Linked DNA regions of Homo sapiens: all the other regions are linked to region 1. The links are contacts of gene promoters, found by promoter capture Hi-C in blood cells and fetal thymus (Javierre and others, 2016). All regions are on one chromosome and are shown on one strand. Each heading gives the region's core, a stretch centred on a gene start or on the middle of the fragment in contact. The rest is flanking DNA. Distances are from core to core; before and after follow the strand shown.

What was found. The method cuts DNA at HindIII sites, captures the fragments that hold promoters and counts their contacts. A CHiCAGO score of 5 or more calls a contact.
Region 2: a contact is called between a fragment that was not itself captured here and the fragment with the promoter of KLHL15 in region 1, in 1 of 17 cell types (non-activated CD4 T cells). The highest score is 6.7, in non-activated CD4 T cells.
Region 3: a fragment that was not itself captured here is called in contact with the fragment with the promoter of KLHL15 in region 1 in 1 of 17 cell types (total B cells); the score reaches 5.8 in total B cells.
Region 4: a fragment that was not itself captured here is called in contact with the fragment with the promoter of KLHL15 in region 1 in 3 of 17 cell types (total B cells, activated CD4 T cells and neutrophils); the score reaches 6.3 in total B cells.
Region 5: a contact is called between a fragment that was not itself captured here and the fragment with the promoter of KLHL15 in region 1, in 14 of 17 cell types (naive B cells, naive CD8 T cells, non-activated CD4 T cells and 11 more). The highest score is 14.0, in naive B cells.
Region 6: a contact is called between a fragment that was not itself captured here and the fragment with the promoter of KLHL15 in region 1, in 16 of 17 cell types (M0 macrophages, naive B cells, total B cells and 13 more). The highest score is 13.2, in M0 macrophages.
Region 7: a fragment that was not itself captured here is called in contact with the fragment with the promoter of KLHL15 in region 1 in 16 of 17 cell types (neutrophils, monocytes, activated CD4 T cells and 13 more); the score reaches 16.9 in neutrophils.

What each region holds. Positions count from the first base shown.
Region 1 is chrX:24,024,962-24,029,295 of GRCh38, forward strand. It overlaps KLHL15 (kelch like family member 15), which reads right to left and starts at 2,225. Exons shown (of 4, transcript NM_030624.3): 1 at 2,179-2,225; 2 at 1-97. RefSeq lists silencers at 1-56, 67-216, 227-296, 377-816, 827-926 and enhancers at 589-1,093, 1,094-1,597, 2,805-3,304. The HindIII fragment of the contact is 3,234 bases long and covers 1,849-4,334 here.
Region 2 is chrX:24,486,890-24,491,223 of GRCh38, forward strand. All of the region lies in intron 1 of PDK3 (pyruvate dehydrogenase kinase 3), which reads left to right. Among named protein-coding and RNA genes, the nearest start is that of PDK3, 24 kb to the left of the region's middle. The HindIII fragment of the contact is 2,369 bases long and covers 629-2,997 here.
Region 3 is chrX:23,623,983-23,628,316 of GRCh38, forward strand. No RefSeq gene overlaps it. Among named protein-coding and RNA genes, the nearest start is that of PRDX4, 41 kb to the right of the region's middle. The HindIII fragment of the contact is 211 bases long and covers 2,445-2,655 here.
Region 4 is chrX:23,650,283-23,654,616 of GRCh38, forward strand. No RefSeq gene overlaps it. Among named protein-coding and RNA genes, the nearest start is that of PRDX4, 15 kb to the right of the region's middle. The HindIII fragment of the contact is 2,402 bases long and covers 775-3,176 here.
Region 5 is chrX:23,671,803-23,675,066 of GRCh38, forward strand. It overlaps PRDX4 (peroxiredoxin 4), which reads left to right. Exons shown (of 7, transcript NM_006406.2): 3 at 3,188-3,264. Among named protein-coding and RNA genes, the nearest start is that of PRDX4, 5.9 kb to the left of the region's middle. The HindIII fragment of the contact is 4,829 bases long and covers 1-3,264 here.
Region 6 is chrX:23,698,292-23,702,625 of GRCh38, forward strand. ACOT9 (acyl-CoA thioesterase 9) reads right to left here. Exons shown (of 16, transcript NM_001037171.2): 16 at 2,764-4,334. Among named protein-coding and RNA genes, the nearest start is that of PRDX4, 33 kb to the left of the region's middle. The HindIII fragment of the contact is 1,062 bases long and covers 1,767-2,828 here.
Region 7 is chrX:23,722,418-23,726,751 of GRCh38, forward strand. It overlaps ACOT9 (acyl-CoA thioesterase 9), which reads right to left. Exons shown (of 16, transcript NM_001037171.2): 7 at 253-336. Among named protein-coding and RNA genes, the nearest start is that of ACOT9, 19 kb to the right of the region's middle. The HindIII fragment of the contact is 5,864 bases long and covers 1-4,334 here.

The DNA.
Region 1 (4,334 bases), core at 975-3,474:
GGCTCCTCGGACGTCTACGAGCAGCCGCTCCCGGCACGAGCCGGGTCGCTCCGGCGGGGCACGAGAGTGCTCGCCTGCAGCCCCCTCTGGATAAGTCCTGGGAAAGAAGACAGCGCTGAGTCGAGAAACCAGACAGTCGGGCTCCGCACGAGGCGGCGCGGCGTCGGGGCCCGGACCGACCTTGCCAACGCCGGGGGCCTCGCAGCACCCGACGGGGCTCGGCGGGAGGGCCGACTGGGGCCGCGGGCGGGGAAAAGGGCTGGGGGGCAGCAGGCAGAGACAGAAGCACCAGCCGAGGAAGCGTCGAGGACGGCGTCTCTGGGCTTCTGCCCCGAAGCGCGCCGAGCCTCGGGATCACCCACGCCGGGGGTGGAGGAAGGCGGGAAAGGGGCGGGGAAGGGGCGGGGCGTGCGGGGCCACGAGCCGGGGGCCGCTCCGGGCCGCGCGCCCCCTGCGGGCCGCGGGAGCCGCCCGGGGCCCGCCCAGGGAGGCGGGGCTGGCCGGCAGGGGGCCCAGTGCGCTGTCGTCTTGACGCGGAAGGCCGCCACGCTGGGAGAGAGGGCGGAGGGTGGGAAGCCGTTGGGGGCGGGGAGCTGGCCCGGGAGGCCCCCCCCTCGGCCCCTGCTGGCGCCCCGAGGGGGCCAGCCCGTGGCCTGGCGGGTGTTTACCTTCCCCCTGGTCGAGCGCCAATGCCGCCATCTTTCAGCCCAAAACGCGTCACTTCCGGCGCCACGGGAGCGGGAGCGGGTGTGGGAACGGGGGGGAAGGGGGGGCGGGGAAGGCTGTCCCGCGCCCGCGGCGCCCCGCGTCCCGGCTGCCGGCCCGCCACGCCAGCGGTTTCCCACCGAGGAAAACAGGCGGCCGGGCGTCGCGGCCCTGGACTGGGCCCGACGCAGCTTCCCCCGCGGCGCCGCCGTCGGGGCTGAGGACACTCAGCTGTCCTCGTCCCCTTGCAGCGGTCTCTCTCCGCCTGCACGAGCGATGGGCCCTGAGCCACTGCGGTGCGCCCACCCTCGACAAGTTGAGGGCTAGGAAGCCAGGAAAGTGTCTTTTTGCATCTTGGCCACGGTGGGGGTGGGGGAATCGGGGACAACGTGGAGGGAGCTTTTCCATAGCTACCTGTTATAAAAGTGACTAGATCTGCGCCAAATGACATCATTTTTTGTAAGGCAACTTGCAGTGGACTATTGCGTCACTGTCCACTTGGCTTACTGCACAACAATTACACGTTTCAGAAATCGATTTCCCAAGGGTGGGAAAATTCATAAAAAATTGCATGTCTGCACCACCCGGAGATAATGCCGGATTTAAAAAAGCTGTCTCTACTTGCGTCAAAATAATCAAGAACGAACATTCAGAGGGCAGTGATTTTTGTTGTTCGTTTTTTATAGAATTCTAGCTAGTACTTTTTAAATATTACCTTTTCTTGACAAGAATATAAAACTAGACTATAGGACTGTTTTGTAAATTTATTATGGCATCTCTTTCTGGGAAAAGTGTAGATGACGGAAATACACAGTTGGAAGCCCGTGGATCTACAATTAACCTTAAATTAGGGCATCCATTGCCCATAGCAGATCCTAAACTGAGGTATTTCGGCTTCCCCCACCCCCACCCCCCGCCGCCATTTTCTCTCTAGACCAATATCCCGATGAACTTTCCGTGAGAGGTGTCGCTAAAAGCGATAATTATCTCTTTCTAGCAAACTTGAACATACCATCTTTCCCAAGAGGCCAAAATAGCACACGGTGTACTGTTTTGCTGAAGTAGACTACTTCGTGGGAGAGATAACACAATCACTTCAATCTTTTGGAAATACGCTTCCTTATTCCGATTTAAACTATAACAAGCTTTAAAAAAACTGTAAGACACTGAAATTCCCAAGTTGTTCACACTTTCTTTCCATCTTTTCCAATAGCTCCTTTAAGATATTTCTGTTCATTATTTAAAAATCCCTGCTTGCCATATTTGTATCTATTACTACATGACAAATTACCCCAGAATTTCACATTAAAACAAATTTTTAAAATTAAATCATAAAATAAACTTTAAAAATGCATACATTCCACTTCTGAATATTTAAATGTTCATGCATTATTCCCGAACATCTAAACGCTGAGTTTGGATTTTTGTACATTAACTAACATTTTAAGCTATACATTACTATGTGGCACTGACCTGTCTAAAGAGAGGCTTCTGTTCTTGATTCAAGCAAGAGTTGAAACGTTTCTGCGCTCTTTGTACCAGGTATAAATGTAGTGAGTGTATGTCATAAGCCATTGTGTGATCACCGTGCTTCCCGTCCCTCCTTATTTTGACATTGCAAGGTCTCGTGGAATTTCAAATGTGCTTTTTTGGATATTTATGTAGTTTTAAAACTGGGCTGTGTCTTTCAATCAATCTATACGTTTACTATATGAACCCCTCCCCAAGTTATCTTCAATCAATGATGCCTCTTTCACTCTTATTTCTTATTTTTATGTTATTATTATTATTTTTTTTTTGAGACAGTCTCACTCTCGGCCAGGCTGGAGGGCAGAGGCATGATCTCAGCTCACTGCAGCCTTGACCTCCCGGGCTCAAGCAATCCTTCCACCTCAGCCTCCCGAATAGCTAGGACCACAGACGTGCCCCACCATGCTCGGCTAACTTTTCTTTTCTTGTTTTTGTTTGTTTGTTTGTTTTGTTTTTGTTTGCTTGTTTTTTTCTGAGATGGAGTCTGTCGCTCAGGCTGGGGTGCAGTGGATCTCGGCTGACTGCAACCTCCGCCTCCCGGGTTCAAGCGATTATCCTGCCTCAGCCTCCCGAGTAGCTGGGATTACAGGCGCTCGCCACCGTGCCCAGCTAACTTTTGTATTTTTAGTAGAGACGGGGTTTCACTGTGTTGGCTAGGCTGGTCTCAAACCCCCGACCTCATGATCGCCCGCCTTGGCCTCCCAAAGTGCTGGGATTACAAGCGTGAGCCACTGCACTCCAGCTCAGGCAACAGAGCAAAAACACCGTCTCAAAAAAAAAAAAGAAAAGAAAATATATTTTAACTTTCCCCACCAATTTCTGGACTGTAATGGGAGTTGTTAAATACCTTGAGAGTATCCTTTCACACTGGTAGAGTCCCACAGAGGTAGATGGAAGCTGTCTTTTCTTAGCCCTCTAGCCTAAGTATTTGAGAATACACATTCCTCAATAGCTATTTATTTAGCAGCTAGCGAGGTCGGAAGCATGCTAGAAGCCTGGGCCTGGGAGTGCTGGTGGAGTTGGAATGAGGTTCTTCCCCAGGGGTTCTGAGGATTTAGGATACTGCATACCCTCCTCCTCCCTCCTGTTTTTGCTTTTTAAGAAATTGAGGCCAGGCGTGGTGGCTCACGCCTGTAATTCCAGCACTTTGGGAGGCCGAGGCGGAAGGATCATTAGAGGTCAGGAGTTGGAAACCAGCCTGACGAACATAGTGAAACCCCGTCTCTATTAAAAATACAAAAAATTAGCTGGCATGGTGGTGCGGGCCTGCGGTCCCAGCTACTCAGGAGGCTGAGGTAGGAGTATGGCTTGAGCCCAGGAGGCAGAGGTTGCAGTGAGTCGAGATTGCACCACTGCACTCCAGCCTGGACAACGGAACTAGACGCTGTCTCAAAAAAAAAAAAAAGAAAAGAAAAGTTGAGGCTTTTCAGAAATTCCCAGTCTGTGGTAGTTGTCTTGGTAATCACTTTTCTTTTTACTTTTTTTTTTTTTCTTTTTTTTGAGACAGAGTCTCCCTCTATCATCCAGGCTGGAGTGCAGTGGCGTGATTGGCTCACTGCAACCTCTGCCTCCCAGGTTCAAGTGATTCTCCTGCCTCAGCCTCCCAAGTAGCTGGGACTACAGGCACACACCACCACGCCCAGCTAAATTTTGTAACTTTAGTAGAGATGGGTTTTCCCATGTTGGCCAGGCTGGTCTCGAACTCCTGACCTCTAGTAATCCATCCACCTCAGCCTCCCAAAGTGTTGGGATTACAGGCGTGATCAACCGCACCCAGCCACCCCATGATCTTTCCACTGTACCATGTAATTATATTAACATAGTAAATGATCTTCACATAGTTGTATTTTTATTCCTACTTAATTCCACAAATTGTTGGTTTGCAATCTACTATACTATTTATTTATTCATTCCATAAGTATGTGTAAGTGCCTAGTACATGCCAAGTCTTGTTCTACCCACTGGGGATCCATCAGTGAATAAAACATATGAAAACTCTAGCCCTTGTACGGATTACATGTGTCAGGTAATAAAATAAATAAGCAAATTATGTGGCCTGTTAGAATGTGGTAAATGTGGCCGGGTGCGGTGGCTCACGC
Region 2 (4,334 bases), core at 563-3,062, 460 kb after region 1:
CAAAGTGCTGGGATTACAGGCATAATTGGCTCACTGTTATTAATAACCAAAACATGGTCTGGCCTAGAGTGGAGGCAGCCCCAAGTTTGGCAGATTCCAAATCTGCAGCCTATTTTGATCCTTCTTAAATTCAGAAATAAATGTTCTTGAACAAAGGAAAACTCTTAAGCTCTTAAGGCAGTGAGAAACTGCTCATGAAACAAAACAAACATTTTAAAAGTAGAAACTAAGTTTTTAAAAAAGTGATTCTTTGAAGGACATTCACAACCATTTGGTAGGTCTCCATTCACATGTCAGATTGTTTCTTCTGAAGGACTATTCAATTAATCATTGTTTAACCCTAGTAAATCAAAAAATTAATGACTTATTCTAAAATTCAGTGTTTTCAACAGATTGAAATCTTATAACTACAACTAGAGAAAAGAAGTTGAAGAGCTCACCTGCACACATGGACATAAACATGGGGACAACAGACACTGTAAACTACTAGACGGAGGGGGAAGTGGGCGCGGGTTGAAAAACTACCTATTGGGTACTGTGCACACTGCCTAGGTGCAACATACACATGGAACAAACCTGCGCATGTACCCCCTGTATCTGAAATAAAAGTTGAAAATTTTTTTTAAAAAGCTTAAAATAATATGTTCTCAGTTATATTTTACCAATTTAAACATGGCTAATGGGAAAAGTACATTGCCAACTCAGACATTTAGTTGGTGATATTAATCGAAAGCATTTAGTTGATGATATTAATAAAAATTATCAGAATGAGCTGGATCATTCTGTTGGGGTTTTTTGGTGCCTTGCGGGTAATTTTTCCATGTATTGCTCTTTATCTCATTATTGCCACTCCCAAACCACCCCCCAACCCCCACCAACTGCTAAAGCTGAACAATGGACAAAGAAAGCCTTCAAGTAATCCAGACAGAGGAGACTCTACATTTTAGGAGGCATGGTCTCTGTTGATTGAAGACAGTACAAAATATGTCCTCAGCCTCTGCTTTAATTAAAAGGTACTTACTATCAATCACTTGAACCTAGGAGGCGGAGGTGGCAGTGAGCCAAGATTGTGCCATTGCACTCCAGCCTGGGCAACAAGAGCAAAACTCCATCTCAAAAAAAAAAAAAAAAAAAAAAAAAAGACACTTATTATCAGGTGACTTGATTAATTGAAGAAATAATTATTTTTTCTGCCGCCTGTAAATTAGTCGAAAAGAGGATTAAAACGAAGCCAGGGTTATCAGCCACTATGTAAACCAGGTATAAAGAAATATGTCTGTGAGCTCCTGCTCTCAGGTGGCTAGCTAAACGCTCTTGGCTACCTCCTGGTCCCACCATAGGGAAGGCTCCCTGCATTACATTGAAAGTCATTTATATTTCTGTGTCTATTCACCCTAGGTCTTGGTGAATGTGAAGCTATATGGAACCTTTCTAGACAAAGCAAATCATACCTTTTGCAAATATAGTAATTGTCTCCAGCTTCCCAATAAAAGGACAAAGTATAAAAAACAAACAGAGGCCAGGCGCAGTGGCTCACGCCTGTAATCCTAGAACTTTGGGAAGCTGAGGCAGGCGGATCATCTGAGGTCAGGAGTTCGAGACCAACCTGGCCAACATGGTGAAACCCCGTCTCTACTAAAAATACAAAAATTAGCCGGGTGTGGTGGTGCATGCCTGTAATCCCAGCTACTCAGGAGGCTGAGGCAGGAGAATCGCTTGAACTCAGGAGGTGGAGGTTGCCGCCACTTGGTGAGCCAAGATTGCGCCACTGCACTCCAGCCTGGGCAACAGAGAGAGACTCTGTCTCAAAAACAAACAAACAAACCAGAAACAAAGGAGAATGAAAGGATCGTCAAACTTAGGAGAAAAACAGAAGAAATGCACATGAGTGTATTTGAGTCTAATGACCTGTTTGCATCCACTAAGTCAGAGTTTTCCAAGCCCCCTCACCTGCTCCCTTTGTCATCTTTGAACTGATACCAGGGAAAAACTTAATTGGTAAATTTGAATAAGATGAAGTATATTGAGAAATGCAGAATAAAAATAGAAAGTCAAAATTAAGGAATGTAGAGAAGCCAAGTAAGTAGGGAAAAAATGAAGTCAAATAATTGGAAAGCAGAACTGGAAAATACACAATATACCAGAAGACTTATCAAAACAGAACCCTCTGGCGAGGACATTCATTTAAAACCAAAATGTTTTTCTTGGTAAGTTTATTATTTAAAAAAAAATGGTTGTTAGAACCTTTTCATTTAAACTGAGTATCCGGCATTAATACATAGGAAAGATACTTTCAATGTACGTGAAGAAAGCACAGAAAGGTTATAAAAATCAGGCATTTCATACTTATTTTTAGGCTAACTAATTAACTAAAAAAGACTTATCCTCCTATTTAAGCTGATATATAATTAAGGTGTCTGAGTACAAAGAATTTGTCCCTAAACCTAATGTAGAATGTAAGAGACAAAACCTGAAATTTTCCAACTACTCTTTTTAAAAAATACGAACTTCTGGACTGAGTGTGGTGGCTCATGCCTGTCATCCCAGCACTTTGGGAGGCTGAGGCGGGCAGGTCACTTAAGGTCAGGAGTTGGAGACCAGCTAGTCCAACATGGTGAAACCTCATCTCTACTAAAAATACAAAAATTAGCTGGGCGTGGTGATGGGCACCTGTAATCCCAGCTACTCAGGAGGCTGAGGCAGGAGAATCGTTTGAACCCAGGAGGCGTAGGTTGCAGTGAGCCGAGATCACACCACTGCACTTCAGCCTGGGCAACAGAGTGGGACTCTGTCTCAAAAAAAAAAAAAAAAAAGAAAAAAAAAGAAATCAACAACAAACAAAGAAAAAAACAAACTTCTGAAAGCATTATCTATTATTTGAAAAAATCATTGAGAAGCTACCATAGGCGAGGCACTATAATATGTGCTATGGGGGATAGAGAGACAGATAAAAGTTTCTTTCCACATGAGTTTTATAACAGGCTGATAATCCAAGGAAGCTTGAAGAAAATGCTTCCTGAAATTTGGTTCTCTTAGACCATGCCTAGTAGTTGAGTTTTAACTATTGCAGAATCATCAGATGAGCCCAGGGAATGGGTTCTCAGGGCTGACCAAGCAGTAACTGACAGTTCGATTGTGTATCCCATGGCCTCAGACTATTCTGTTTGAGCATCATCAGCGTCATTAGTGATTGCTATTTAATTAGCCCCTCTTCTAAGTTTTAAGAATATGTGACTGTTAAATATTGTGGTTTATTAAGTTTTTATTTATAGAGATGGGGGTCTTGCCACATTGCCCAGGCTGGTCTCGAACTCCTGGCCTCACATGATCTTCCCATCTCAGCCTCCCAAGTAGCTAGGATTACGGGCGTGAGCCACTGCCTCTGGTTTAAATGTTAAGCACATGTTAACCCTCACCAAATCTCTGTGAAGTAGATACTGCTCTTTTTTTATAGGTGGTTACAATGAAGTTTAGAAGTGTAAAGAAACTTACCCCTGCTCATGAAGCTTGTGAATGCTCTAGTCAAGATTCAAACCCTGACCTTTGTCATCGAACTTCAGCACCTGACCTTTGTCATCAACGCCCCGCAGGACCATAAGCTTTTCTCTGAATCCTGAACTCAAAAAACTCTGAAAATTGAATTTCTTTTTCATATATTTGCTGCCACAACTCATTTTGTGGCAAAACCAGACCTGAACTGACTTGATTCCATAGTCCTTATCCTACTTACTGGAAATGTTCACGTATTTCACTGCAGCTATGTTGTGGCTCTCTAATACTCTGTATTGTACAATGTATGGTATAGACTCCTTTTTACCTTCCTAAAATTGAAAAACCTTTAAATTCTGAAACCATCTAGATCTGCAACTTCTAGAGAAGAGATGAGAAGCTGACTATGGCCACCTCACACCTGCCAGCCAGCTCTCACTGCTCACAACATGCTCGTATCCTGTGACTCCTAACAGGCTGCCAACTTGGAAATTTAAACATGTATACTTTCATTACCCTCAAAAACTCATAATTGTGAAAAAATTATTAGTTCATACTGATACTACCAGTTTCAGTTTAACACCAGAATTCTTCTACTTCTTCCCTATTCCAGAACTTCCTTTTTCCTCTTAAAGAAAAAAAAAAACTGGCTAGACATGGTTGGTGGCTCACACCTGTAATCCCAACAGTTTGGGAGGCCGAGGTGGGCGGATCACCTGAGGTCAGGAGTTCAAGACCAGCCTGGCCAACATGGTGAAACCCTATCTCTTTGTAAAAATACAAAAATTAGCCGGGCATGGTGGCGGATGCCTTTAATCCCAGCTACTCCAGAGGCTGAGGCAGGG
Region 3 (4,334 bases), core at 1,300-3,799, 400 kb before region 1:
AATAAAGGGGAACTGAAGACTGTTCAGTGGTGAACTCTGACCACTGTTCTCTGTTCTAAATTTCTTCCTGAGGGCCTTGGAGTCACACTCCAAAGCCAATTAACATTTTTTTCTGCTGACCCAAAATTTTTAAACAAAGCTTTCCTTCCTTAACCAATTGCAAATCAGAAAACCTCTGAATCTACTTACAACTTGTAAGCCCCGCTTCAACATATCCTACCCTTTTAGGCCAAACCCAATGTGTAACCTCGACGCATTGATTTATGATTTTGCCTGTAGCTTCTGCTTTCTTGAAATTTAACCCTGCCTTTAAAAAGCCTTACCTGCAGCCACCAAAGAGGTCAGTATTTGAGCAATAGCTGCCTAGTTCTCCTTGCTTGGCATTCTGCAAATAAACACCTTCTTTTCTATTGCTGCAGAAACCTCAGTGTGGATATCTGGTTTTACTACATCAGGCAAGCAGACCCCAATTTGGTTCTATAACACCACTGTTCCAATCATGGCATTTCCCCATTGGAAACATCATTTATAATCAAGAGAAGAATCACAAATACTTAACACAGCTCTTCCCACAATCCACTCAATAGTATCAGTTACAACATCTTGCGTGTACTGTTCCATAAGAGCCCACGCATAAACTTACATCAGTCTAATTTGAGACTTATTTCCACATCCAAAGTAAAAATTGTACCATGCCCATGGAGGCTTCAAGGCATTACAGGGACTTGTGCCTCAGCATCCATAAGGACTGAAAAAGTTTGGAAAGTGATGCCAAGCCTCCAACACACTTTGACAAGTGGATAAAGCCTCTAGTTGCTATTAGAGAAGAATGGACCTCACCTTTACCCTAGACCTATTTGTTCTTTTTTTTTTTTTTTTGAGATGGAGTCTCACTCTTGTCTCCCAGGCTGGAGTGCAATGGCGCGATCTTGACTCACTGCAACCTCCGCCTCCCGGGTTCCAGCAGTCCTCCTGCCTCAGCCTTGCGAGTAGCTGGGATTGCAGGCATGTGCCACCACACTCGGCTAATTTTTGTATTTTTAGTAAAGATGGGATTTCACCATGTTAGCGAGGCTGGTCTCGAACTCCTGACCTCAAGCAATTTGCCCGCCTCGGCCTCCCAAAGTGCTGGGATTACAAGTGTGAGCCACCGCACCCGGCTATTTCCTCTTGAAAGAGGAGAAGTCTGGGTAGAAATGTGGTGTTGAAGGTGTTAGATCAACAACATTCCAAACAGCACAGACATTAGCAAGGTTTTCTAGGTCTTCTTGGTCTCCCTCATATCATCAGCAATGTAGTCATGGCCAGGCAGGCTTAAAACATCAGGTAGATTTTTAGGCAAAATGGTGATCTCCTTACAACACTGGGTAGGTGATTAGGCAAAACAATGATCTCCGCTCACTCCCTCCAACACGACTGCCAGTGCTCCCTCATCTGTTTGTGGAGGAGGAAACCTCTATAGACTCATCGGGCTTTTACTCAAACCTATCCTTCATGTTCCTTCCATTCTGTTCATTGTAGAAGTAGACTTCAGAATATCTCTATATAAGTGACTGCACTCTACCAGCAGCTACTGTTTTCCTTGTGGTCATAGGTAATGGCCAGGGGAAAACTGTTTCAATTTCCCAGTAACACAGATGGATACTCAACAAAGAGGAATTGCATTTCTTAGATTTATGTCTAACATGAACTATCAACTCAAGACAGCACGTGTCTCAGAGACAAAGGTGAAAGATCACATGGCCCTTATCATCAAATAATTTATCAATGTGGTCTGTTTATGAGTACCAGTGTTGTGAACATTAAGGTGTTTTCTATTCTGCAGCACTATTCTGGTGGTGGATGGGCAGCACAAAGCCCCCATCCCAAAAGACCACGGAGAAGATGAAAAACTGCCTCATAAAAACTTTTCAAGGAGGATACGTAGGTGAGTGGAAGATGGCCTCAGAGCAATACCTCACAAGCTTCCTATCCTCTTGCATTCTGAGAAGACTGCAAGGCATTCTGCCACATTTAGATAAACCATGCTCAAGCTCTGCCCTATGTGGCCTATATGGGTATCTGTAGGGTGACCAGGACAAAATGTAGATGCAGTGCCCTACACATGGATAACACCTGGGAGTTCCTCCTCCTGGAACATCTGTAAGTCAAAATATCTTCCCATTCATGGTGGAAGCTGATGCTGTCCATTACCCACCATGTGTTACTCTATAGAACTCTAAGTTGTATAACTGGAGACGCACCACGATGAAAGAGGGGAAGAGGGATGGTTTGAATGACACTAGTGAAACAGCATCAGTAAACTTCACTCACAGCCCTAAGTTATAGGAATATGAGATTAGTGTCTGACTCATTAGAAAAAAAATCTGAGGCTGTATCTATCCTTTCCAGAATTTACAAAAGGGGGCTCATTGGGTAGTGACTTCTATCTCCTGTAGAAGAAAAGCTTATGTTCTCCATGTGGAAATATGGACAATAAGAAAGGGAGTGTGATGGGATTTTCTCCACCATCAAGAGGAAAGGATGAAAAGAACTTCCTCCTTGCTTCAAACAAATGGCAAAGAGCATCTGAAGCCTTGTCTTACACCCCTGGAGTGTTGAAACACAAGGGTTAGTAATAAGTTCATATAAGCGAAGTCAAGAACCTGGAGTTTAAGCTTCTCTGCCAGAAGATACAATAAGAAGCTGGCTTGAGAGCAAACTGCACTTTTGCCATATGCAGAAGAAAAGGCTGTAATTTCCAGTGTCACATGTGGAGGCTACAATATTGAATGGCTTCAAACTGTATTAAAACTAAAGTACCCAAGAAGAACCCTTGGAAATAAAAGAGGAAGCCCTACAGAAAAGTGGGCCAAAAGTTCCCAGGGGCTAGGGCACATCTAGTGGCCAGGCAGAGGAAAAACATTCCTGAAAGCCTACCTTAAATAGGAGGTTGAACACAAGCCCTCTCATTTAAGAGATTTTTCAGATGCTCTGTTATTGATTGAATCATGTATTTCAAAAATTCAGATGTTGAATACCTAACATCTAGTATTTCAAAGCACAAATTTATTTGGAAACCGGGGGGTTACAATACTAATAAAGATAAAATAAAGTTCTTATAGTGGTCCTATTCTAATATGAATAGTGTCCTTATAAGAGGAGATTTAGACATAGACACAAATACAGGAGAATGCCATTTGAACATGAAGACAGCCATCTACAAGCCAAAATGAGATGGCTGGACCAGATTGTTCCCTCACAGCCCTCAGAAAAAATAAACCCAGCCAATACCTTGAATTTCAACTTCTAATCAACACACACACATAATATTTGAGGTAGAGAGAGAAAAGAATTCTTAGAAAGAGTTGTTGGTATGGTGGGCATTTTCTCCACATTTGTAAGAGAGGAACAATGATTGCTTCTCACTTGATGTAAACCACTGACAATGAGATTCAGACAAGTTGACTGATGCCCATAAAGGTTGAGGGACACAGGAACTAGCAACTGACTTGTACAAGGAAAAACAGAAAGCTGAGACTGGGGGTGCCCCTGGAGCACAGCAAAAGCTTGCCTGGTAAGTGAACAGCAATTCTACCATTTACAAAAGAAAAATACTTGATTTCCAGAATCCATTTGTGGACCTGGGGGAAGAAAAGAGCCTGAGAATACCTTTAAAGGAATATCAGCCAAGAGAACCACATGGAGGTACAAAAAGAGCTCAGTACTGGTAGATACCACAAAAGGCCAAGGAACTATGGGGTGGGGGGGGCATGCAGTTTAAGTGACCAATCAGAAGAAAGGCCCCGCATCGGGCAGGGGCATGATGTCTGAAGTCCCCATGAGATCTTCCACTCAGGATTTCTTATCTCAGAACCCCATACCTGCATTACAAAGCGAATCATGCAAGAGTGTGATTTTCTCCCTGAGCCCTTCTCTTGCTCTCTCAAGGTCTCATCAGGGGGATAAAAATAAGCAAATACTCAACTGGGGTATAGATGGAGAAAATAAAGGCCAAAAAATGGGTGCCATTTCCACTCCCAACCCATATATGCACGTCACCCGCAGGATTCCAATACTCAAGCAAGCCTCATCTGGGAGTAGAAGATCTTGCCCAAGATTCAGGAAATGATGTATTGATTATTACACTAGAATAAGCTTCTTACAAGATGGAAGTAGCCACAGGACATTCAGCTTTATGACAGTAACCAGAAAAGCTATGAGAACATCCTGGGCTTTTTTCCCAGACATGAGAAGAACAGGTAGGCAACGTGGTTTTCATAGGAAAAAGAATGAAGTTGCTTTCTTTTTGTTAGACTTTATTCACATCAGTTCAACAGGACTTGAATGAAGAA
Region 4 (4,334 bases), core at 726-3,225, 370 kb before region 1:
GCAGAGTGTTTTCCAACTTGGTTCCATTCTCCCCGTCACTTTCAGGTACACCAATCAGACGTAGATTTGGTCTTTTCACATAGTCCCATATTTCTTGGAGGCTTTGTTCGTTTCTTTTTACTCTTTTTTCTCTAAACTTCTGTTCTCACTTCATTTCATTCATTTGATCTTCCAGCACTGATACCCTTTCTTCCAGTTGATCAAATTGGCTACTGAAGCTTGTGCATTCATCACGTAGTTCTCGTGCCATGGTTTTCAGCTCAATCAGGTCATTTAAGGACTTCTCTGCACTGGTTATTCTAGTTACCCATTCGTCTAATCTTTTTTCAAGGTTTTTAACTTCTTTGCGTTGGGTTCGAACTTTCTCCTTTAGCTCGGAGAAGTTTGATCGTCTGAAGCCTTCTTCTCTCAACTCGTCAAAGTCATTCTCTGTCTAGCTTTGTTCCGTTGCTGGTGAGGAGCTGCATTCCTTTGGAGGGGGAGAAGTGCTCTGATTTTTAGAACTTTCAGCTTTTCTGTTCTGTTTTTTCCCCATCTTTGTGGTTTTATCTACCTTTGGTCTTCGATGATGGTGACGTACAGATGGGGTTTTGGTGTGGATGTCCTTTCTGTTTGTTAGTTTTCCTTCTAACAGTCAGGACCCTCAGCTGCAGGTCTGTTGGAGTTTGCTGGAGGTCCACTCCAGACCCTGTTTGCCTGGGTATCAGCAGCAGAGGCTGCAGAACAGCGAATATTGCTGAACAGCAAATGTTTCTGCCTGATCTTTCCTCTGGAAGCTTCGTCTCAGAGGGGTTCCCGGCCATGTGAGGTGTCAGTCTGCCCCTACTGGGGGGTGCCTCCCAGTTAGGCTACTCGAAGGTCAGGGACCCACTTGAGGAGGCAGTCTGTCTGTTCCCAGATCTCAAACTCTGTGCTAGGAGAATCAATACTGTCTTCAAAGTGGTCAGACAGGGACATTTAAGTTTGCAGAGATTTCTGCTGCCTTTTGTTTCGCTATGCCCTGCCCCCAGAGGTGGGGTCTACAGAGGCAGGCAGGCCTCCTTGAGCTGCAGTGGGCTCCACCCAGTTCGAGCTTCCCAGCAGCTTTGTTTACCTACTCAAACCTCAGCAATGGTGGGCGCCCCTCCCCCAGCCTCGCTGCCGCCTTGCAGTTCAATCTCAGACTGCTGTGCTAGCAATGAGCGAGGCTCCGTGGGCTTGGGACCCTCCAAGCCATCCGTGGGATATAATCTCCTGGTGTGCCGTTTGCTAAGACTGTTGGAAAAGCGCAGTATTAGGGTGGGAGTGACCCGATTTTCCAGGTGCCATCTGTCACCCCTTGCCTTTTCTAGGAAAGGGAATTCCCTGACCCCTTGCGCTTCCTGCCTCGCCCAGCTTCGGCTGACACTCGGTGGGCTGCACCCACTTTCCTGCCCCCACTGTCCAATGAGCTCCAGTGAGATGAACCCAGTACCTCAGCTGGAAATGCAGAAATCACCCGTCTTCTGTGTCGCTCACGCTGGGAGCCGTAGAATGGAGCTGTTTCTATTCAGCCATCTTGGAACCATCCCCTCTGCTAAGGTTTTTTGTTGTTGTTTTATTTTTTATCAATATATAACAGTTGTACATAGTTTGAGGGTACATGCGATATTTTGATATATGTATGTAATGTGTAATGACCCATTTTCTTTGAGAATTTGAGTCATTTTTCAATGGCACCTGCTGTCTGGGGATAGTATGTGAATTAAATAGTTCATTGCAGGGAGTACTGTTTGCTGTAAAGGTTGCACCAATGTGTAACTGCATGTGGTTGGTGAATCCAAATATTAAACCAGTCCAACTAACAGTTATTTCAAAGAATTCCACATCTGCTGTGTGCACAGGATTGACAAGGCCATACACAGAAAAGGGATCTACTGCAGCCCATGAACAGTGGTAACCTTGAGAAAGGGTACAGCGCCAGGTCTGAACTATCTGCATGTGGGATCCAGAGATCTTTCTACTCGACTAGACAGCTGGCACCCTGGACACATTTGCCAGACTCCCTTGGTCTCATATGCTGGAAACAGTAAGTCTTAATTTGGGGCCAGATCCTGCATTGCAGATGGACTACCATGCCTTGTTACATAGTCTATCAAGGTAGCCATTATCTCAACATGGGCAGGACATGTCTGATGAGCTTATTAATTCCACTAATTTTCATCCCCAAATGGATTTTATCCACAAGGATTTACATGGGGCATAAATAGGAAGTATGTATTTTATGCAATTACCTGATTATAGCTGCCACCTCTGAGGCTGAGACTTGATCATATAGTCGGCCCCCTGCCAGGCATTAGTCCACACTGTCAGCCCATGGGCACCTTCCCAGGAGTGATTCAAAATATAACAAGGTGAATTGGGGGGCCATTTCTAAGGCAAGCACTGCAGCCTATATCTAAACCAATACATCAGAATTTCCTTTTCATGCACAGAAGCAAGCAGGTTGTGTACAGAATGTACAATTTCTGCAGCCTACTACACCCCATCTGCCTTCAACTTAGTGGATGCATCCATGAACAAGACTCAGGAACACTCAGGAACCTGGATGCACCAAAGCCACCAGGAACAACAAGGTGGCACAGTCCCTGCATCTGACACAGCCACAGCTAGAGGGTGACTGGACACTTTTTCCTACACCTCCAAGATACCTTTACTATCTGATGTACTTCTTCTCTAGAAATACCCTTTTCCCTTTAAAATGAATGTTTCTTAGCCAAAACTCACTTTAATAGCATTCTCATTTGGGATTCATCCCATAATAAAGAATTCAGGGTGTATCAAGACCTGCTCTTGTCTTGTTACTCTGTTGATGTCCACCAACACCAACTAACAAGCCATCAAAAGCCTCTAAAGTGACATATATCAAGTGATAGTTTCAGACAAGGACCACAAATGAATCCCAAAATGTGCTATTACCTTTAACGAAAGAGCCACGTCTTTTGCTGTAAGTTTTTGTCTGCATTAATAGCAGTTACTGACACTTTCTTTCAAAATGCCTCTGGGTGACTTGCCTCAGTGGCAAGGTGATCTAGACAACTTGTTGGAGAGTTTCTAAGGCAGGCTGTTGGTCAAGCTGAATGCCTTTCAAGCAATCTTATGTAATGAGCTGACAGAATCTCTATGTTATGTGCATGAAATATATCCAATACTAAACAAGCTTATAATGTTCTGTGCCAAATTTGGTTTTAGGGCAGTTTTAAGACCATCAGTTTTTCCTGAACAGGCTCAAAGATTATACTCTGGGCACCAACCCACATGGTTCACCAGAACTATAGCTAAATGACTGGCTGTTGATTCTTGTCAGGATTAATCTTCCAGTGCTGGTCACTCAGATATTGGACTATTAAACACAGACAATACTGTGTCCATAGCCCTTACAATCAGAATAATGTCATCATTTAAAGACACCAGGACAGCTCCGGTTAGATTTCAGTCTTTTGTAGGTTTCATCCTATCCACTGATGAGAAATCACAATGTTTTGGTTATTATGAGGCAGCAGGTGAACATATATTATAATCTATGAAGCCAAAAAGCCTCTGAAAAAATAATGCAGGGGTGCTGAAGAAAGCAGTAGCATGTCCACCACCACAAACCAGGCCATTCTTTCTCAACAATGAACTCTGTGATCACTTTGATATCTGCAAGTGGAGCAAAAATGAGGACTGTTGCCATATTGAGCTTGTGATATGGTACAGGGAAGCATCAAATACTACAGGGTTTTTTGATCAACTAAAGGAACTCCTTTCACCAGCCCCCAACATGGAACCCTATACTGCTTTACTTATGCCCCACGGCTGGGTTGGAGAAGGCTGGCAGGCTCTGGGTTACCTATTCGACCAACTACCACTACTCTATCATGGCATTTCCCCCACTGGAAATAGCCCTTACAATCAAGAGAAGAATTACATATACTTAACACAACTCTTTCCACAAAACACTCAGCAGTATCAATTATAATATATTGCCTATGTATTAACCCAAAAAGGCCCACCCGTAAACTCACATCAGTCCATAGTCCAATCTGACAGCTATTCCCACATCCAAAGTAAATTTTTGACCGTGCCCTTTGGGACTTCTTAGAGCCAAAGTGACTTGTGTCCCCATGCCCATAAGGACTGAAAAGGCTTGACTACTTTAAGTCCTCAACCCTTGACTACATCAAGTTCCCAACATACCTTGATTGGTGCATAAAGCCTCCAGTTCCATTTAGAGAAGGAAGGGCCACATCCTCTACCCTAGACTTGTATGTTCTTAAAAGGAGAAAGATCTGGGCCAGGTGCGGTGGCTCTTGCTTGTAATCCCAGCACTTTGG
Region 5 (3,264 bases), core at 765-3,264, 350 kb before region 1:
GAGTCATAACACACCGACCTCAATACTTATGTCTACATGATTATGTTATAATGGAATAATTAGAGGAAAGCTACAATATATTCATTAAGCTATACCTACTAAGGCAAGAAAATGGACTGATAATATATTAGAAAGCATTTAATAGCAAGACCTATGCCATAATTCTTTTTACTGTATCTCTCTTGATTAGAAAATTAATTCTGTAATCCCAGCACTTTGGGAGGCCAAGGCAGGTGGATTACAAGGTCAAGAGATCGAGACCATCCTGGCCAACATGGTAAAACCCCATCTCTACTAAAAATGCAAAAATTAGCTGGGCGTGGTGGTACGCGCCTGTAGTCCCAGCTACTCGGGAGGCTGAGGCAGGAGAATTGCTTGAACCCTGGAGGCGGAGGTTGCAGTAAGCTGAGATAGTGCCACTGCACTCCAGCCTGGCGACAGCGAGACTCCATCTCAAAAAGAAAAGAAAAAGAAAATTAAGCCATTTTCTCTAGTGATACCATGTAACTGTGGTTTTTCCATTTTTATTCTTTGCTGCATCTGTTGCTTTTCTGGGATTTGAACATTTTGCTGAAAATATTATATACTGCTTAAGGAATAAGGAATAACACCTGTGTATATGTTATGGTTATTGTGGGGTTTCTCGTCTTTTTTTAACTCTGTGACAGTGAGCGTTTTTGTATATGGTCAGAAAGTTGACTAAAAGTAAATACCCTTACAGCTTTATTCACGTTGAGGATTTAATTTTATTTTACAAAACACTATTTTGAGTGTTTTTCAAAATTCATGAAAGTGAGAAGAGACCAAAAAGAGTTATGTCAATTTTTATCTTTTATTCTCTTGGAACTTACTTTTTGGTTACAACAAATAACTAGAAGTTTCCTCCTCTATCTTTGCCACTGTGCCTTTTTCCATTAGGACTAATCTGGAACTACATAGATCAAATTTAAACTTGCAGGGAGGGTATACTTAAGCTCATTGCTATAGGTTGTTTCTAGGCCAGGGATTAACAAATTTTTTCTGCTGGATTTGGCCTATTGACCTATTTGCCAACCCCTGCTCTAAGCCACAAAGGAAGAATTCTCATGAAAATTATTACATTGAGACTAAAGTTATGAGTCTGCATAATATATAATCTTTTAAATTATAAGAACTTGCTTCTTTCTAATCAACTCATATTGTGACTTGATTTTTTTAAGTATAGCTTAATTTCTAATAGAAACCAGAAGTAGAAATTTCAGTAGACATAAAAAATGACAGGCCTTCTAAATTCATGTTGTTATAAAACCAGAAGGTTAACATGTATGTTAAATATATACGACTAACACCCTGAATTTGGAAGTTAGTCTAATGTAGCAGAAAAATATGTTCTGTGTTTCTCCATTGTTATTCATAACTCCATAATGGGTAAGAGATAGTTAATTGGAGCATGTTGTTAGCAATGGTCTTCTGGGACAAGGAGCTAAGATAGCCTCTTCCTGTTTTCATGTAATGCTGGACTGTGCCTGGTTAGAGAAGGAAGAATTCTGGGGCATTTGCCACAGTCTACAAGGAGGAAAGTTACAAACGTAACCCTTCAGTTTCCTGCCAAAACTTTTTCTGTCTTCACTAAGAAGTTGGTCAAATGTATCTCTAGGTAGCATTCCTTGAAATAAGAAGAAAGGCAGAGGCTGGGTGCAGTGGCTCACGCCTGTAATCCCAGCACTTTGGGAGGCCAACATGGGCGGATCACCTGAGGTCAGGAGTTCTAGACCAGCCTGGCCAACAAGGTGAAACCCCGTCTCTACTGAAAATACAAACAAAATTACCCGGGCGTGGTGGTGGGCGTTTGTAGTCCCAGTTACTCAGCAGGCTGAGGCAGGAGAATTGCTTGAACCCGGGAGGCGGAGGTTGCAGTGAGCTGAGATCGCGCCACTGCACTCCAGCCTGGGTGACAGAGTGAGACCCTGCCACAAAAAAAAAAAAAAAGGAAGGCTGAGGCTGACCATTCCTACCCTTTAGAAAATATTAAAAATACATTTTATAGCCCAGGTTTCCAGGGACATCATCCGAGATTAGAACTGTCTACTTGGACATGACAGTGCTGTACCTGAATACCTGAAACATGTTAAAATCCTGTATTGGTATCTGGTAGGAACTTGTGCCCTAACTAAGTCTATGTTTTTCAAACTTTCTTGACCATGTCTCACAGTAGGAAATACATTTTTCGTTGTCAGCCAGTACACAGGCACATATATATACGGTAACATTCCATCTGGATGCACCAGCACAGCCATGCTCCTTAAAATACTGAAAAACCCTCATATCATGTGGTAAATAGCCACTTCCCTTTCCTCACCAACTAGTTAGTCCTCCTGCCTGATCCCTTTCAGAAACCTCCAGAACTAAAGCCAGCTTTGAGTTAAGATTGTTAAATATTTTGAATATCATCACTGTTGAAGACAAACATATATATTTGTATATATAAATATGTGTTTCATAATTTACCCTTAGTATGTATGATAGAGTCTCCTGTTTTCTATTCGATTTCACTTTTTAAAAATATTTTTTAGAACTCAGTTAATTTAAGGAGTCCCTACCACGGTTTGAAAAAATGCCACCCTAGTAATATTCTGTAAACATGGCCTGACAACATGAGGGTATTAAGGTATAAAATCCCTGGCTGCACAGGACTGGTAGACAAGGTGGAAGAGGACCTTATCAAGAAAGGAGGGGTGGGGGTACTGGAAAACATTGCCTCCTCTCCAAAATACACATAGATGCATCTAATTCATAGGGTTGGTATAGGAATATTAAAAAAAAAATAGTGAAATGACATAAAATTTGTATAGATCCTTTGAAAGCTATAAAATACTATATAAATAAAAGGTATTATTAAATAAAAGTAATAAAATGAGGGGTGGCTATTGCTATAAGGGAGAAGGGAACATTGGTTGACTACTGATCTATTAAGTTGTAATAAGAAAGTTTATTGAGATGTAGTTGGGAACTCTGTAATATGTTTCTGTCTTAAATATTTGATTAAATGACAGTCTTTTAGACTACTCCATTTTGAAAAGGTTCAAATATAAAATTGTTCTTAATGTGCATTTTTATTATTAAAGGTATTTGTAAAAATTGTCATTTGAAAGTTTAGGTATATGCTTATTTGGAGAATACTGAATATTTTTTTTTTTTTACCTTTCAGCACATTTGTGTGTCCAACTGAAATTATCGCTTTTGGCGACAGACTTGAAGAATTCAGATCTATAAATACTGAAGTGG
Region 6 (4,334 bases), core at 1,048-3,547, 330 kb before region 1:
AGGCACCAGATGTCCCAGCCCCAGATGAACTCCCAGATGAACAGAGCTGACTGAGTGACCTTAGCCAATGCTACATGGAACAGAAGAACCTCCCAGGTGAGCCCAGCCATCCCACAGAATCAAGTATATCTTTAGAAAGATAAACTGCACAAACTAATTGAAAAGAAAAAGAAAAATGTTGAAACCCCAGGGGAGTTGGGTGCAACTTCAGTTCTCTAGGAGTCAAGTGCTTGGCTCTATTCAAAAAGGTGCAAGAAAGCAGATTGGATCAGAGCAAACACAGGTATCAGATGGAACACGTTGACAGAAGATTTGGGTTACCACAGAATCACATGGACATGCCCAACACAGTGCAAAGCATACTAGAATGAAGTAAACTCTCCTAAAGAAACCAGTGAAAAAGACAGCATCCTCAAAGACTACACATTGAAGAAGCATGGAGGCAAAAACTAAGAACTTGGTAATAAATGCCTGAAGTAAAACTGGGATCTCAGCACAGACTATTTAATATAAAACAATGTCCAACTCACATGAGGAAGATGTATGCTAGAACTTAGCAGTGCTGGTGCTGGGTAAAAATTCTCCTTTAACTTTTTTTTCAGACGCAGTCTCGCTCTGTCGCCCAGGCTGGAGTGCAATGGCGCCATGTCGGCTCACTGCAATCTCTGCCTCCCAGGTTCAAGCGATTTTCCTGCCTCAGCCACCTGAGTAGCTGGGATTACAGGCACCTGCCATCATGCCCAGCTAATTTTTGTATTTTTAGTAGAGACGGGGTTTCACCATGTTGGCCAGGCTGGTCTTGAACTCCTGACCTCAGGTGATCCGTCCGCCTCGGCCTCCCAAAGTGCTGGGATTACAGGCGTAAGCCACCGCTCCCGGTCAAAAATTCTCCTTTATTCTTTGAGAGGGACATAACACTAATAATCCAGAACCTAGTGTATATCCGTTAGTTTGCTTCACCTCATCTTCTTAAAAGTCCTGTATTAAAAACCAAAACCTCTAGCTTTTATATCTGTATTGGTAGAGGACAGATTTGGGGTGAAGATTCTGGTATCCAAAATTACGTGAGCAATTTAACAAAAAGACAACAAAAACAATAAGCAATTTAATTTCAATCTCAGTAGAATTCAGAGAAAGGCAATTAACAAATGTCAGTTTTCTTTTTTTGGGGGGGTGGGGGGGGACAGGGTTTCACTTGTTGCCCAGGCTGGAGTGCAGTGGCGTGATCTTGGCTTACTACAGCCTCAAACTCCTGGACTCAAGCAATGCTCCCAGTTCAGCCTCCTGGGTAGCTGGGACTACAGGTGTGCACCATCACTCTGAGAGGAGTTAGCTAGCTTTCCTTAGGTAGACAGCAAGGGAAGGGTCCCCAAAGAGCCCCCAACCCACGGGTCAGTGCCTCATCCCCACAGAACAGAGAAAGCAGCCTGGGGATAAAAATCAAGCTGCAGGCACCGATAAGGGAAGTAGCACAGGGTGGTGGTGTGCCTGGAGACAAGCCCGCGGCTGCACAGATCCGAGAACCTCCAGCCCACTTAGATAAAAACTTGCACAAACCTCCAGCTCACTCAGATAAGGGAACAAGACCTGACATAGAAATGTCTTTGTCTTTTGTATAATCAGCAGGTTCCCGGGAAAAAGTTTCTTCTCCTTTCGTGGGCATTAATACTGTGGGCTCCGACGACTCCGATGGGCACTTTCCTTTCCTCTTTCGACTGTGAGCCCGGCCTCTAAGAATTACTTCAGCACGATTGGTCCCCGGGCCAAGCTTTCACTTCAGCTCCTGATAGGTCCCGGGCCAAGCTGAGTGGTCTCAATGAATCATCAATTCAGCTCCTGATTGGTCCCGGGCCAAGCTGAATCTAGCTTTCTCCAAGACAGCTCACAGACTAAGCAAATTCCTTCCCCTTCCCAGTCCGCAAAAACCCCCGACCCCAACCTCATAGTGGGCAACCCGTTCAGGCCCCCACTCTCCGCTGCGGAGAGCTTTTTTTTTTTTTTTTGAGACGGAATTTTGCTCTTGTTGCCCAGGCTGAAGTGCAACGGCGCGATCCTCAACTCACCGCAACGTCTGCCTCCCGGCTTCAAGCGATTCTCCTGCCTCAGCCTCCCAAGTAGCTGGGACTACAGGCGTGTGCCACCACGCCCAGTTAATTTTGTATTTTTAGTAAAGACAGGGTTTCTCCATGTTGGTCAGGCTGGTCTTGAACTCCGGACCTCGGCCTCCCAAAGTGCTGGGATTACAGGTGTGAGCCACCGAATCCAGCCGAGAGCTTTCTTGTTTTGCTTACTAAACTTTTGCTCCAACCTCACCCTTGTGTTCGTGCTCTGTGACACAAAGAACTCCGGATACTATCTCAGACAACCAAAGACTGCTACATTTTGGCGCACTGGTGAGACTACAACACCTTGCTAATTTTTGTATTTTTGTAGAAACAGGTTTTCACCGTGTTGCCCAGGCTGGTCTTGAACTCCTGACCTCAAGCAATCTGCCTTGGCCTCCCAAAGTGCTGGGATTACAGGTGTGAGCCACCACATCCAGCAGAAGGTCATTCTTCACCTATCAAAATGGCAAAGATATTTTAAAAAGAAAAGATAAAAATTGGCAAAGTTCAGGGAAATTGCTGATGTGTAAGTGATTGTGTGAAACTGTTCTGAAGGGTTACATGAAATACATATTCAAAGCCTTCAACGTGTGCCTACTATTTGACCTAAATATCTCATTTAATATTTTTCCAAAGAAAATAATTTAAGGGTCAAATGTTTTAGAGTATTTAGGATATTTACTGCAACATTGTTTATAATAGCAAAAAAGAAATACTAGAAAAAGCTTCACTGTACAGCAACAAATGGTTAAATATATAATGTATAATCTATACAATAGCATGCAGTAGGTCTCTTAACTCCACTTAACACATTCACAAAACTCCCCAGGGCGCATCCCTCCCCATTAGCCACCTCCCATCATGTCATAGGTAGATATGCAAAATGCTATATTGAAGGGCCAGGTAAATCTCAGTCAGGATGGCATTACGGCATGGAGAGACAAGTTATTATAGTACAGCACATGCTTGATTCCATGAGTCAAACTGCATGCTTCCAAGAGATAGTTGTGTTCGCTCCTGTGACTATTTCATGCCAGAGGTGCTTGTTGACACTGTGATTTCAATAAACATTACATAAACTAATATAAAAAAATTGCTTGAGACAGGGTCTTGCTGTCACCCAGACTGGAGTGCAGTGGCATGATCATAGCTCACTGCAGACTCAAACTCCTGGACTCAAGCAATCCACTCACCTCAGCCTCCTAACTGGGACTACAGGTGCACACCACCATGCTCAGATAATTTTTTAACTTTTTGTAGAGAAAGGGTCTCACTATGTTTCCCAGGCTGGTCTCAAGCGATCCTCCCATCTCAGTCTCCCAAAGTGCTGGGATTACAGGCATGAGCCACCACTGTGCCTGGCCTAAAAATTTTTTGTTAAAAATGCTTTCCACCGGCCGGGTGCAGTGGCTCATGCCTATAATCCCAGCACTTTGGGAGGCCAAGGTAGGTGGATCACCTGAGGTCAGGAATTTGAGACCAGCTGGCCAACATGGTGAAACCGCCTTTCTACTAAAAATACAAAAACTAGCCAGGCATGGGGGCTGACACCTGTAATCCTAGCTACTCAGGAGGCTGAGGCAGGAGAATCGCTTGAACCCGGGAGGTAGAGGTTGCAGTGAGCCAAGATCATGCCACTGCACTCCAGCTGGAGCGACAGAGTGAAACTCTGTCTCACACACACACACACACACAAAAATACTTTCCACCTAATTCTGAGGCAGAGCCAAGTTTGTGAACACTAATGTAGAACCCACAATAAATATTGCTTCCTTCTTGGGAGGACTTTTTTCAGAGATTATTTTTTCTTCTAAGTTACCTTCCTGTCAAAAAAGGAACGGTCTTGGCTACAGATTTTTTTTTTTTTTTTTTTTTGAGATGGAGTCTCGTTCTGTCACCCAGGCTGGAGTGCAGTGGCATGATCACAGCTCACTGCAACCTCTGCCTCCCAGGTTCAAGCAGTTCTCTGCCTCAGCCTCCCGAGTAGCTGGGATTACAGGCGTCCGCCACCACGCCCGGCTAATTTTTGTATTTTTAGTAGAAACGGGGTTTCACCATCTCGGCCAGGCTGGTCTTGAACTCCTGACCTCATGATCCATCCGCCTTGGCCTCCCAAAGTGCTGGGATTACAGGCATGAGCTACCGCGCCCGGCCTTGGCTGCAGATTAACGGGAATACCTCCCTTGGGCTTCCTAGGTGACACTGTGATATTCGGTATGACCTCCCTTG
Region 7 (4,334 bases), core at 1,079-3,578, 300 kb before region 1:
GCCGGGCGTGGTGGCACATGCCTGTAATCTCAGCTACTCGGGAGGCTGAGGCAGGAGAATTGCTTGAACCTGGGAGGCGAAGGTTGCAGTGAGCCAAGATCGTGCCATTACACTCCGGCCTGGGTGACAAGAGCAAAACTCCGTCTCAAAAAAAAAAAAAATTCCCATAAAAGGAGAGTACGTCCTGTAATCTCAATAATATCTTGAAATTACTAAGAATTCTAAGTATGCATAGAAAATGATATCACTTACCAATCTTATCCACCAGGGCTGTAACTATCGATAAAGGAGACATCTTGGCGGAGTGGATTTTGTTGTGCATGTAACAAATAAGAACTGCAGGGAAACAGGAGTGTACCAAATTTTAAAAAGGCAGAATTATTTCCCAACATTTAAAATTTCCTCCCTGAGATCCATGAAAAGCCTTGTCTCGCTTGGAAGATCCAGCCCCTAATATTCCATTGATCATCTTATCCTAGGATCAAACACTTTTATAAATTGAAGGATTTGGGAGATCCTCCAATCTGACTGCCCCCTCAATTTTAAGATTTGGTGAAGAAATCAAAGCCCGAAGCAAGCCCAGACCCACCAGACAGCTTGTTACCACTCCACAGAGACTCAGTGCCCAAATCAGAGTAAGAACTCAGCACATGAGTCTGACAGTATCAAACATCTTCAGGAAAGAGAAACAAAGCACAAGGACTTGGCTACCTGTTTTCCTCCTGGCTTTGTCCTAATTAATCATGAAACAATTATTTCACTCAGTTATCCCTCCTTCCCCATAACACCCTTGACTCCTATACCACCCTGTGGTTATCTGTATACTTTCCATATTTTAACAAGCATTTATATGTGCCATGCATGGTTCATGCACCTTACAGATATCAACTCATTTAAAGTCGTATAATTATACGTTGGGCCGGGCGCGGCGGCTCAGCCTGTAATCCCAGCACTTTGGGAGGCCAAGGCAGGCGGATCACGAGGTCGAGAGATCGAGACCATCCTGGCTGACATGGTGAAACCCCATGTCTACTAAAAATACAAAAATTAGCCGGGCGTGGTGGCGTCCCAGTTACTCAGGAGGCTGAGGCAGGAGAATCAATTGAACCCAGGAGGCAGAGGTTGCAGTGAGCCGAGATCGTACCACTGCACTCCAGCCTGGCAACAGAGCAAGACTGTCTCAAAAAAAAAAAAAAAAAAAAAAAAGTTGTATGATTATATGTTGATTGGCTCCCTGCTTCCCCCATGATCCATTCAAATTTGTATCACAAACTCTCAGACAAGATATGTGGCTCAATAAATACTTGTTGAGTAAGTGTAAATCCTTCCATCTATGCACCTGCTAAAGGACACACTGGGGGAATGATAGGCTAAAGGCAATAAACTCCATTTAAAAGTCTTTGTCCAGCAAAGAAATCAGATGGCTCCAACCTATGGCAACAGGAGTAGAAATGAAAAGACTATGAGTTAAGAAGAAGGTAAACCTGAGAAGACTTGAATAAATTCAGTTTTCTAGCTTGCATAGGTAAGCGTGGTGTACTAGTCACTGAAAAAGAGAAGAGAGACTGGGCACAGTGGCTCATGCCTGTAATCCCAACACTTTTAGAGGCGAAGGCAGGAAGATCACTTGAGCCTAGGAGTTCAAGACCAGCCCAGGCAACACAGCAGAGACTCCATCTCTACCAAAAACACAAAAGTTAGCCAGGTGTGGTGGCACATGCCTGTAGTCCCAGCTACTCGGGAGATAGGTAGGAGGATTGCTTGAACCCAGGAGGTCAAGACTGTAGTTAGCCATGATCATGCCGCTACACTCCAGCCTGAACAACAGAGTAAGACTCTGTCTCAAAATAAAAAGAGAATATAGGAAGAAAAGAATGGGCCATTTTCAATGCGTTGAATTTGAAGAGCCTATGGCACATCCAAATGAAGGTATTGGGGAGGGCACAGTTGTTCACACCTGTAATCCTAGGGCTTTGCAAGGCCATAGCAGGAGGATCACGTGAGCCCAGAGCTTGAGACTAGCCTGGGCAACAGAGTGAGACCCCTGTCTCTACAAAAAACTTTAAAAATTAGGCCAGGCATGGTGGATCAAGCCTGTAATCCCAGCACTTTGGAAGACAGAGGCAGATGGATCACTTGAGCCCAGGAGTTCCAGACCAGCCCAGGCAACATGGTGAGATCCCGTCTCTACAGTAAAATACAAAAATTAGCCAGGCATGGTGGCGTGTGCCTGTGGTCCCAGCTACTTGAGAGGCTAAGATGGGAGGATGCTTGAGCCCGAGATGTCGAGGATACAGTGAGTGGTGATCGCACCACTGGACTCCACCCTGGGTGACAGAGCAAGACCCTATTCCAAAAAAACAAAACAAATTAGCCAGGCATGGTGCAGTGTGCCTATAGTCCCAGCTACTCAGGAGGCTGAGGCAGAAGGAACACTTGAGCCCGCAAGTTTAAGGTTGCAGTAGGCTATGATTTTACCACTGCACTACAGCCCGGGCAACAGAGTGAGACTGTCTCTAAAAAAGAAAAATAAATCTAGTAGCTAAGAGGAAAAATTGATTGAAACTCAGAAAAGCAGGCCAGAAAATGTAGCTTTGTAAGTATTCAGCATACTGATAGCAACTGAAACACTGGGAGTAGATGAGTTTATAGAGAATCTGCAACGTCAACCCAAAAAAGGGCAGAAGGGAAGGGTAGAGAAGAGACGGAGGAAAATGTAATATAAATGTAGTTTTTACCACTGATCAGTACACTTAAAAATGATAAAGATGAGCCAGGCGCGGTGGCTCACACCTGTAATCCCAGCACTTTGGGAGGCCGAGGTGGGGGGATCACCTGAAGTCACGAGTTTGAGACCAGCCTGACCAACATGGCAAAACCCCATCTCTACTAAAGATACAAAAATTAGCTGGGCGTTGTGGTAGATGCCTGTAATCCCAGCTACGTCGAAAGCTGAGGCAGGAGAACTGCTCGAACTCGAGAGGCAGAGGTTACAGTGAGCCGAGATGGTGCCACTGCACTCCAGTCTAGGTGACAGAGTGAGACTCTGTCTCAAAAAAAAAAAAAAAAAAAGATAAAGATGGTAAATTTTATATTTTAACCTCAACTGAAAAAATAGGGCTGGGCGCAGTGGCTCACACCTGTAATCCCAACACTTTGGGAGGCCGAGGTGGGGGGATCCCTTGAGTCCAGCAGTTTGGGACCAGCCTGGGCAACATGGCAGACCTTGTCTCTACTAAAAATCAAAAAAATTAGCTGGGCATGGTGGTGTGCACCCGTAGTCCCAGCTACTCAGGAGGCTAAGGCAGGAGGACTGCTTGAGCCAGGAGGTCAAGGCTACAGTGAGCTGTGATCACGCCACTGCACTCCAGCCTGGGTGACAGAGTGAGACCCTGTCTCAAAAACTAAATAAATAATTTTAAAAGATTTAACAATTTTATTGTTAAATTTTAAAATGCCTTAAAATTTAATTAATATGAACAAATTATAAAATTCAAAAGGCCGGGCGCAGTGGCTCACGTCTGTAATCCCAGCACTTTGGGAGGCCGAGGCGAGTGGATCACCTGAGGTCAGAAGTTCGAGACCAGCCCGGCCAACATGGTGAAACCCCGTCTCTACTAAAGATACAAAAAATTAGCCGGGCGTGGTGGTGTGTGCCTGTTATCCCAGCTACATGGGAGGCTGAGGCAGGAGAATCCCTTGAACCCGGGAGATGGAGGATGCAGTGAGCTGAGATAGCGCCATTGCACTCCAGCCTGGGCAACAAGAGCGAAACTACAGCTCAAAAAAAATAAATAAACAAAATAAAATAAAATAAATTCAAAAAATAATCAGTTTTTGAAAGGGCAGAAGACAAAACCCTGGGGATAACCTACATTTAAGGGATCAACAGAAAAAGAGGAACCTACAAAGGGGACTACAAAAGAGCAGCCAGAGAAGCAGAAGGAAATGTCACCAAAGCCCAAGGATGGGCTGGACGATATAAGAAGCCACAAAGGGGTCAGGTCAGCCCTGAAAAGTATCCATTCAACTGTGCAGTAAAGGGGCCAATGGCGAGCTTGGCAAGAGCAGATTCAATGGCGTGGAGGAGCAGAAGCCGGAACACAGCCGACCGGGAAATGTTTAATTAACAGGAAGTTAGCATAAAGAGGCAATGAGAGCAGGTGATTTTCTAGGTTCTTTTCAGAAAGTGAGCTATGAAGTAAGGAAGAAAGTGTGAGGTGTTATAAGGAAAGAGGATTTTTTACTTATCTTTTTTTTTTTTTTTGACTCAGAGCCTCACTCTGTCACCCAGGCTGGAATGCAGTGGTGCGATCTCAGCTCACTGCAGCCTC